2 separate regions of the Homo sapiens genome follow, and region 1 is linked to region 2. The links are contacts of gene promoters, found by promoter capture Hi-C in blood cells and fetal thymus (Javierre and others, 2016). All regions are on one chromosome and are shown on one strand. The core of a region is centred on a gene start or on the middle of the fragment in contact, and the rest is flanking DNA. Distances in the headings are between cores, read along the strand shown.

Region 1 (5,124 bases), core at 1,053-3,552, 570 kb after region 2:
AGTAAAAGAATAATGATTTCTAGGGGTTAAAGGAAGGGAGGCACGAACAGGCAGAGTACAGAGGATTATCAAGGCAGTGATACTATTCTGTATGATGCTATAATGATGGATACCTGACATTATGCATTTCCCCATAGAATGCACAACACCAAGGGTAGCCCTATGCAAACTACGCACTTTGTGTGATAATGATGTGCCAATGGAGGTCCATAAATTGTCACACAAGTGCCACTCTAGAGGAGGATATGAATAGTGGGGGAGGTTATACTTGTGTGGGAGCAGTGGGTACATGGGAAATCTTGGTACCTTCTGCTCAGTACTGCTGTGAACCTAAAACTGCTCTAAAAATAAAGTTTATTAAAAAAAAAACAAAGATCATGTACTTACTGCTTCTGAACTGCCATATGCGATAAATGTAAAGGAAACGCTCTTAGAGTCCAAGAGGCCCAGATGTCTGAATATCCACTGATACAGAACCATCTATTTTGTCCTTCAAGGTACTCTAATTTCTTTTTCCTTTAAGGTACCTCCTTCCTTTACCTTTGCCCTTACACCCACACTCCCATCCCCAATTTGTACTCTGTCTTACATAACGTCATTCCTTTGAAGCCAGTGCTAGGTGACAGCTACCTAGGCTCATAAACTCATCTATGGCTTTAGGTGCTTTGCACTTTTCTACGGTTTTAACCATGAAAGTGACTGAGTATTCATTGGAAGGCTTTGGGTTTTTTCCAGTGAACTTATTTCAACACAGTCTTTCAGACTGCGTTGCCTTACAGCATAGACAGATGATGAAGGTGCTCCCTGCACTAATCTGCTGCTGTTATCCCATTAGCAAATGTTAGCTAAGCATTTACTCTGTGCTGGGTGTTGTGCTGCATGTTAGGAAGTCAAACAAGTAATACATGATCTCTTCCTTTAAAAAGGTTCCAGGTAACTAGGAAGTGACTAGAAGTTATTAAGCTCCACAGGTAACTTTCTAGGAATTTCGCCATAAGCAAGCAGTGTGTGTCTAAAATCTGCTGCAAAGTGTTATCATTCTCTTAATCCATGGTTGACACATGCATTCTTATCACCATTAAAACATTTTCAAAATGGCTGTTACCCCAACACACACTTTTACAGTTTTGTTAGTCCTTTTGCCCCCAGTGACTCTGTGGCCAGCCCTAGGCAGCACGGTTTTGTAGAGCATGCCCCAAATTCTGGGCTGAACTCAGCGTGACCCTTGCCTCATTTCTCCCATTGGCTCTTTCCAACTCCAGCATGCTTTGGATAGTTCAGTCCACACCTGGCAGAGACTAAGTACCGACTAATTGTTGACCTAAGATTTTTTCCCCCCAAGTTTAAGTTGAATCACTTTAAGTAAAATTTAACCAAACCAACCATCATATTCCTTAGTGTTGAACTGCTACAGTAATCAACTGATGCTTCTTCTATATTTACTAATTTCACATAATTGAGCATCTTCTGCAACTGGTTACTTTTCAGAAAGGCCAAATGAGACCATATAGGAAAGAATCTTTTTTATCTTGGGTGGGAAAGATCTTTTTAAGAAGACTCCAAAACAATTACACATCATAGAGGGAAAATCGTTGAATTTCTTTTCATTAAGGGAACCCTCAAATCCATAAAATACAGATGACTTGGCAAAGCTAGTTACAGCACCTAAAATTGATGTAATATCTACATCTGGGTATATGTAGAATATATAACATTATAATATATATATACACATATATATGTGATAAAGTTAGCAAAAGCCTGAGAGGTTTCAACAAGAAATTTTAAATGTATTAACCCAATAAAGAAGTAATATCTAGAACATTCAAGACATACCAACAAATTAACAAGCAACTAAAACAAAAAGCTAGTTAAGCCAATAATGAGCAAATAATTTATATCCATATAAATTATGCATACTATTTGTATCCATAGGATGGAAAAACCTGAAAACTAGTAAATATATAGTGCTCAACCCTACTAGTGTTAAAAAATTAAAAAATAAATCTGATACCACTTTGTAACTATCACCTGTAAAAAAAAAAAAAATCAGAGTCAGAAAACACTAAATGTCAGCAAACCAATGCTAAACAAGAACATTTGTTCTTCTGGTAGAAGAAGAAATGGTATAGTCTTTCTAGAGAGCAATCTGGCAATACTTGTACCATAAGCCTTCTTCCAACTGCTGAATGTATATCCCAGAGCAACTCTTTCCAACTTCTCTACAGGGACATGTAAATGCATAGGCATCTATGGCAGGGGATACTGAAGCACCCTAGATGACCATAGCCAGAGAGGAAAACTAACATGCTGGATGGACAAATCTTGAACAACACAAAAGTGAGTGGAAAAAAATAAGAAACATTAAATGTATTTTACATCCCATTTAATTAGAAACACACACGTATAAAATAATGCTATATGATTTTATATAAAATATGTACATTCAAAGACACATAGCAAGTGTGTTAAACAGGACTTATTGAAAAGGCAGGGGAAGAAATGGGAATGATAACTGGAGGGGAAAGATAAAAATATTAAAATTAAGGTAACAGTAAACAAAACTGGTCCCTTGCACAGATAAATATTGAGAAGTACACTGAGTTAGAAGCAAGGCTCAGCTTCAGTTGTGATAGCCTCATTTACTGAGACCTTGATCTGTACTAGTTATTGTACTAATCGCTTCACATATGTTATTTTAATCCTCACACAAAAACACGCACAGACATATAGAACTCATATTATTATTCCCATTTTACAGATGAAGAAGCAGAAACTCAGAGAAATTATATTTTTTGCCTAAGGTCAAACAGCTAGTAAGTGGTATAGCTGGGGTTTTAATGCAGGTCTACATGACTCTGAATCTCATACACTATATTATCTGCTATCTGTTCATATATTCAAGAAATAAGTGAAGGTACCAAAAATAAGTTCATTCTTTCTGACCGCATTCCCCAATCATCCATCATTGACCACTGTGGTTTCTTTGGTAGGCTGAATGATGCCCCTTAGATGTGCCCACATCCTGACCTCAAAAACCTCTGAATGTTTCCTTGTATGGTAAAAGAAACTTTGCAGGTGTGATCCAGTCAAGGATCTTGAGATGAGGGGCTTCTCCTACATTACTCAAGGAAGCACAATAAAGTCAAAAGGGTATTTACACGAAAGACATTGGAGAAGTCAGAGAGGAGTAGGAGACATGATGATGATGGAAGCAAAAGGTGGAAGTGATCCCAGGAAGGGGCCATGACCAAGGAGTGCAGGGGCCTCTAAGGGCTGAAAACGGCGAGGAAACTGATTTTTCCCTAGAGACTCCAGAAGAATCCAATGCCTTGATTTTAGCCCCATGAGACCCATTTTGGACTTCTGACCACCCTCCAGAATTGTAAGAGTTTATATTGTGTTCTTTAAACCACTAAATTTGTGGTAATTTGTTACAGTGGCAACAGGAAACTAATACACTTAGAAATCATTCAGATTCACTTCAAGATATTTCAAGCTGTCATAGGAGTAGTAGTTACATTTCCAACAGCGAACAATAGCTAAGTAATGCCAAATCCAGAACTAGAATCCAGATCTCTTGACCGCCTCAGTGCTAGGCTCTTTCCACTACACATAGCTGTCAACAAGTATAAGTCTCTGAAGTAATAGCTATAGAGAATTTAAAATCAAGTAAAATGTAGACATTAAAAGTGGACACCTTGTTTCCAAGGGAGCACTGTGGTTCTGTTACAGAGAATACCCCAAGATATACAAAGAAATCTTTCTGCACTTAAACTTCTATACTGGCTATTTGTGATGTAGAACAATTCAGGTTTGATTCACCTGCACTAGCAATGCTATCTACATATACGAATGTGTTCTTAATACAAATCACTTTTACAGGGCAAGGACAATTTTTAAAATGTATTATTGAATTTTGAAAATGTTAATAATGTTAAAAAAAATTACTGAATTTGAAATCAGAATGCAGTTCAACTCTCAACTCTGCCATTAGCTCTATGACCTGAAAAAGTCAGTTCACCTCTCTAGGTCAGATTACTTATCCATGGAATGGCCCGCATAGTCCATTACAGATCTCCTGTGCTAGACTAATGCAGGCAGTGCTCTCCTAAGGAGATGGTGCTGTCCCAATACAGACACTGGGCTGATTCTAGAAAGAGAAGCCTTGACATTCACCAAGTGCCTCCTGTGAGCTGTGCACCACAGCTTCACTTCTGTGGCTTTGGTCAATATTCACAATACACAAGGTTGCATTATGACACATATTTTACAGCTGAGGAGACACATACCCAGAGAGCTCAAGTAACACACTCAAATTCATGCAGCACATGCTAGTTACAACTAGTTCTGTCTGACTTGAAATGTGGTCTGTGACACTGTAATCACTTACCTAAAGATTAAATAAGAGTGACTCACACTCTGACAACACTTTTCAGGTTGCAGACACTTCCACACTCATTAGTTAATTTAAACCCATCAAGAACCCCATGTCAAAGCCAAGGAATATGAAAAACAGGATCAGATATATTTCAGGAACCTGTCTAAGGTAACGCAGGAAATGACAGAGACGGTGGAAGTTGAATTCAGGTCTCTCTGATGCCATGCCCTTTCCAGTATGCCTCAGCACCCTACTCTACCACCACTAAAGGGATCTCGGAAAAATCACTTAATATCTTTAAACTTCAACTCCCTTTACTAGAAGCTCTTAATTATAATACCTGCCCCTGGCATCATCCTGAGGGTTAGGGAACTCATAGAAAGTATTTTGCAAGTGTTTATGAACATACAAATGACAGGGTGTTTCAGCTTTACTTGAGCAATGACCATTTGTGTTATCCAAATTGGCTTCTTCTTTAAAAGTTTAGACAGAACTATCAAAACAAATTGGGGACTAAATACCTCTGTGATGTACACTTCTATAAGGCCTGGCACAGGATGAAGGCTCAATAAACGTGTGTTTTCTATTTTTGGTAAGCAAAGAGGCTTTAATCAATAGCTGTCCAGAATGACAATTGTAGCAAATCCTGATCATGGATAACAGCATCTAGAATAATAGCCAGTCCATCAACTCATGTTAAAACCACAAAACCACATCCCTGCTGTGCTAGGGAAGCATCCTTT
Region 2 (4,846 bases), core at 1,195-3,694:
ATAAACACTAGGAAAACACCAAGAGACTAGTAATTATGGCTGATCCAGGGAGACTTAGATGGCTGGGAGCTAGGAAAGGAGGAAGACTACTTTTCATGGTTTTAGTCTATTGCAATTTTGCTTTTGGACCATTTGTATGTGTTACCTATCAAAATAAAAGTATGCTAAATTAGTAAACTTAATCAAATTACCCACAATACAGAAGAGGAACCATACAAATGGGGTGGTGAAGGTGGTAACAGAGAGAAACAATAGGGAGGAATAGAGAAACCACCACCACTGACATTAAAACGATTCGAGACTACTCAAGTACCAGATAATCCCAAACCCCATTTTATAGCTATCATTTATTGGGCATGGACTGTATTACTTGTGTTATACATTTATTATTGTCAATCTCCACAACAATCCTGCAAGAAAGGCACTATTTCACATTTAAAAAATTATGCTCAGAGAATGATTTGCCTGAAGTCATGGAACTAATAAGTGGCGGAGCTTACATTTGAACTCAGAACATTTGTACTCCTCTGTGAGGACACCAGCCAGTTTCATGGCCTAGTGACAATACACCTTCCTGAGGGAAAAACATGCAAAAGGTAGAAATATTATATTTAGGCTGGGCGCAGTGGCTCATGCCTGTTACCACAGCACTTTGGTAGGCCAAAGCCGGAGGACTGCTTGGACCCAGGAGTTCAGGACCAGCCTGGGCAATGTAACTAGGCCTTGTCTCCACAAAAATAAAAATTAATAAAATTTAAAAATAAAAAAATTAGCCAGGCACGTGGTGTGTACCTATGGTCCCAGCTACTCAGAAGGCTGAGGTGGGAGGATCACTTGAACTGGGGAGGTCATGGCTGCAGTGAGCCATGATCGTGCCACCTACACTTCAGCCCAGGCCTGTTCCATAAAATAAAAAATACTGCATTTAACTTTCTTTGTTGTCACTGATAGAAAAACTTGAGCAATAACTGCTATGATACATAAATTGCACATATCTAGAAAAAAATTTCAGACTTAAAAAGCCATGATAGAATTAAAAAAAAAAAAAGCCATGGTAGAATTTTAAGTCGTATTTGAGTGATCTGGGGAGCCCAAGTTTTCCATTTACCTACAAGGAGGCCTTACCCGACAGAACAACACCCAGATAGAATGACTGAGCATCCAATCCAAGAATCAGAATCAGTAAACAAGAGTGTCACTGGCTTTATGAGTTCTGTTCAAACAGTATATTAGCTAAAGCTGCCTCCCACCCCAAATTCCTTTTCTAATCATAAAATGTAAGTCTTGGCAGTTACCAGAAAAGGCTATTTTGTAAAAATGGCTTTCACTGTGAAATTAACCAATTCCACAGATGATAGCAGGGTCAGAAAAATAGTGCCAGAGTTCCAGAAGCTGTAGAATTAATTTGATACTTTCAACACAGGATTAGTTAACCAAAGGCCAGGTGTGGATAACAGGAAACAGGTTGTCTTAGACTCTACACTCTAACACGACTCTTGGAAAAGTCAACATTGGCATGACTCAGTTTACACTTATGCAAAAATACTAATATCTACCTCACAGTGGTAATGAGAGACATAATTAGGGTCTGCAAGCATTTTTCAGGTCACAAGATTAAAGGCTGTTTCTGAGGGTACTGCATGCATTTCCTGTAGATATGAGTACACTGCATTCTTAAATATATACTAAAAAGCGACCTCCCAGCACATATAACTAATTTTCTTTGGCAAGATTTTCTTCAGAAGTACACAGGCAACGATATTTGTAAACAAATCCTTTAGCAGGGAACTAATCAACTCTTCCGATGGCTCTAGCTTCCACTTCCGAGGCCCGCTGTGATGGTAACCAACCAGGTTCCATCTGGCTTACCAATGCTGACGTTCCCAACTTCCTAGCTGTCAGATCGATAGGAACCTGAAACTAACTGTTTCCCGTTCCTTTGAAAAGGAGAAATTACGGACCCTCGGGTTGTTTGGGCCGTAGATGAAAAAAACAAGCGGGGGGGGGGGCGCGGGGGAGGAGAGGAGGGAGGGTGGGAAGAAGAGAAAATAAAGGGAGATTGAAATATTGGGAAAAGATACGAGGGCAAGGACTGGGGACACAGTAGCCCACCAGGACCCACATAGGGTGATATCTACATAAGACTCCAGGGCAATAACGTCAACAGCTCGGTAACCCCTGCGACACCCTGACAGTCCTGCCGTCTGGAAGTGCCTTTGTCCCGGCCCGTCGGCCAGTCCCGCCGCTTCTCTCCCATACCCCTAGGCGCTCAGCCCTACGAGGCTGCCCGGAGGCCGCCTAAAAGCCGGCGGCGCTCGCGCCCGCCCCTCAGCTCGCCGGGCTCGGCGGGACATACTAACCGGCTGGTAGACGCCATCTTCACGGCGACTGCGGTGCCCGCAACAAGACACAACAGACACACCGAAAGCAGGAAGCGAATGTGGCGAAGAGACGCGCAGAGATGAGTTTTTATAGACGACTCACCCACGCAGTCGTAGCAGAGCAGGGCTACGGGTCGGGAGAAGGGCCAAGAACAGTGAGATCCCATACGTCACGTGCTTTGCGATTTCTTACGTTCTTACTCCGTTTCTGTAATTTGCTATGTTGCTAAGCGAGTCAACGTAACTACCTAGGAAAAGTCTCATGGGAACCCTGCAAAGGGGCTACAACAGAGCTACTCTCAATCTGACAGTTAAAACACAAAGAAAACCCTGGCTTCGTAGTGGTGCCAAAGCCTGCATCCCTAATAGTTTAACCACCCCTTCCTCTCCCACCTTCTCACGGCTACCTTCTCACGGCCACCACCTACCCCGCCCCCAGCCCCCCACCCCGCGTCAGGCACTCCCATTTGAGCCAGTTCTTACGTGCCCCAAGGGTGATTCTTTCTAAGAAATTTGAAATAAAAGGAGAAACTCACTTAGGTCATCCAGAACAGGTGTCTGTTCAGGATCTGTCATCAGCTAGCATGTTGTCTTCTTAGGCACGTCCTTTATACAGGTCATGTAAGTTTATATAGGTTATGGTATCTTGCCTTGCATACCCTTTTAGAATTGGCAGAAGATGAAACAAAACTACGTGAAACCAATGTGTACACAAGAGGCACGACGATATGGGCCATGCTCTGATCATTTTTTTTTCACGGCCTTTGTAACGTTGGCTGATAGCTACATATAGAAAACTTGCGAGAACATCTAGATATTGCAAAATATCCCTAGATTTATTAATTAGCCAAACTAACGTCAAAATTGTAATACCACTATTACTAACAACAATAACAGTTACCGGTGGAGAGTATTCACGTTCTTGGCGTTTTGAACAAAGAACTGGACACAACGCACAAACTAAGGAAAGAATGAAGGAATAAAGGCAGAGATTTATTGAAAACGAAAAGGTAATACCAGCTCAAGACTCCTTTTGCAGAATTTTCGGGGGTTTAAATACCCTCTAGAGGTTTCCCATTGGTTACATGGTGTACACCCTATGTAAATGAAGTAGTGGCTCCACAATCAGTCTGATTGGTTGTGGAAAGCAACCAATCAGAGGCTAAAGTGAAGTTACAAAGTTACACTCCTATGCAAGCGTCTGATTGGTTGCAGAAAGCAACGAATCAGAGATACTTTCAATTTCACATCTGCCACACGGCTAAAGTGTGTGTGTGTGTGTGTGTGTGTGTGTGTGTGGTTGTGTAGTGGGGAGGGGGTTGCAAAGGGAGTAACGTCTGGTTCTTTTGTTACTTAGGTGTGGAAAGTTGGGGTTTTCCTTTTTTTTTTTTTTTTTTGAGACGGAGTCTTGCTCTGTCGCCCAGGCTGGAGTGCAGTGGCGCGATCTGGGCTCACTGCAAGCTCCGCCTGCCAGGTTCACGCCATTCTCCTGCCTCAGCCTCCCGAGTAGCTGGGACTACAGGAGCCTGCCACCACGCCCGGCTAATTTTGTTTTTGTATTTTTAGTAGAGACGGGGTTTCACCCTGTTAGCCAGGATGGTCTTGATCTCCTGACCTCGTCATCCGCCCGCCTTGGCCTCCCAAAGTGCTGGGATTACAGGCGTGAGCCACCGCGCCCGGCCGGGGTTTTCCATTTGATTTAGTTCTAGGAAATCAGTGTGAATCTGCCTTAGGTTCCCTGCCTTCAGACAGTATTCTCCTGCGGCAACACTTTGCTGACAACTATTCTTGAAAATACGGGGATTGGTATTTTCATGGTGGTTTTCATGGGGCTGAGAACTTAGAAGATAATGACTGCTTCCTTCATCTGGGGATGGGATTTAAATGTAATGGAGCACTCACTGTTTTCTTGAGAAGGTGGGAGATACTAGCTTCCTTAGAAAGAAAAAGGGGTGCGAGAGGCAGGATTTTAGGAACTCAAATCTAGGTGGGAACCGGGGAGCATGATTTCTTTTTTCTTTCCCAATCCCAATCTTCTATTTTGTAATTCTGTAATTTTAAAAACTTGACTGTACTCTTGTGGGGGTTTTTTCCTCCCTCAATATTTTTGTCAAGTGCAACCAGGAAAGGGCTTGGGGGTGCTGCACCTCAGTCCAGTAGAGGTTTCATAGTAAAGCATCTTAACTTGGAGGAAGAGGAGGAATAAGACAACTGTGCATCTCTTAAGGATCCAGAACATGGACCTGCACCTAGTGGATTCATGGTAGGCATTCAATAATGTTTGTTGAAGGAAGAAATTGAAACCCTAGAAAAGGGAGGCAGCACTACTGGTTAAATTAACTCCTGCCCCACCTGGAGAGTCTCTTGTCTGTCATAAACTTGTAAGAATTTCTTTTGTATTAAAATAGAAGGCACCTTAGGTAAGCCATTCGTTTTCTTTTGTTAGTACAGCACTGGAAATTTAC

The links. Contacts are between HindIII fragments. The CHiCAGO score rates a contact against its expected background, and 5 or more counts as called.
Region 1: a contact is called between a fragment that was not itself captured here and the fragment with the promoter of GTF2B in region 2, in 1 of 17 cell types (activated CD4 T cells). The highest score is 6.6, in activated CD4 T cells.

The regions. Positions count from the first base shown.
Region 1 is chr1:89,461,179-89,466,302 of GRCh38, forward strand. No RefSeq gene overlaps it. Among named protein-coding and RNA genes, the nearest start is that of LRRC8B, 61 kb to the right of the region's middle. The HindIII fragment of the contact is 6,077 bases long and covers 1-5,124 here.
Region 2 is chr1:88,889,123-88,893,968 of GRCh38, forward strand. It overlaps GTF2B (general transcription factor IIB), which reads right to left and starts at 2,445. Exons shown (of 7, transcript NM_001514.6): 1 at 2,361-2,445. The coding sequence starts at 2,377. RefSeq lists an enhancer at 2,621-2,730. The HindIII fragment of the contact is 16,776 bases long and covers 1-4,846 here.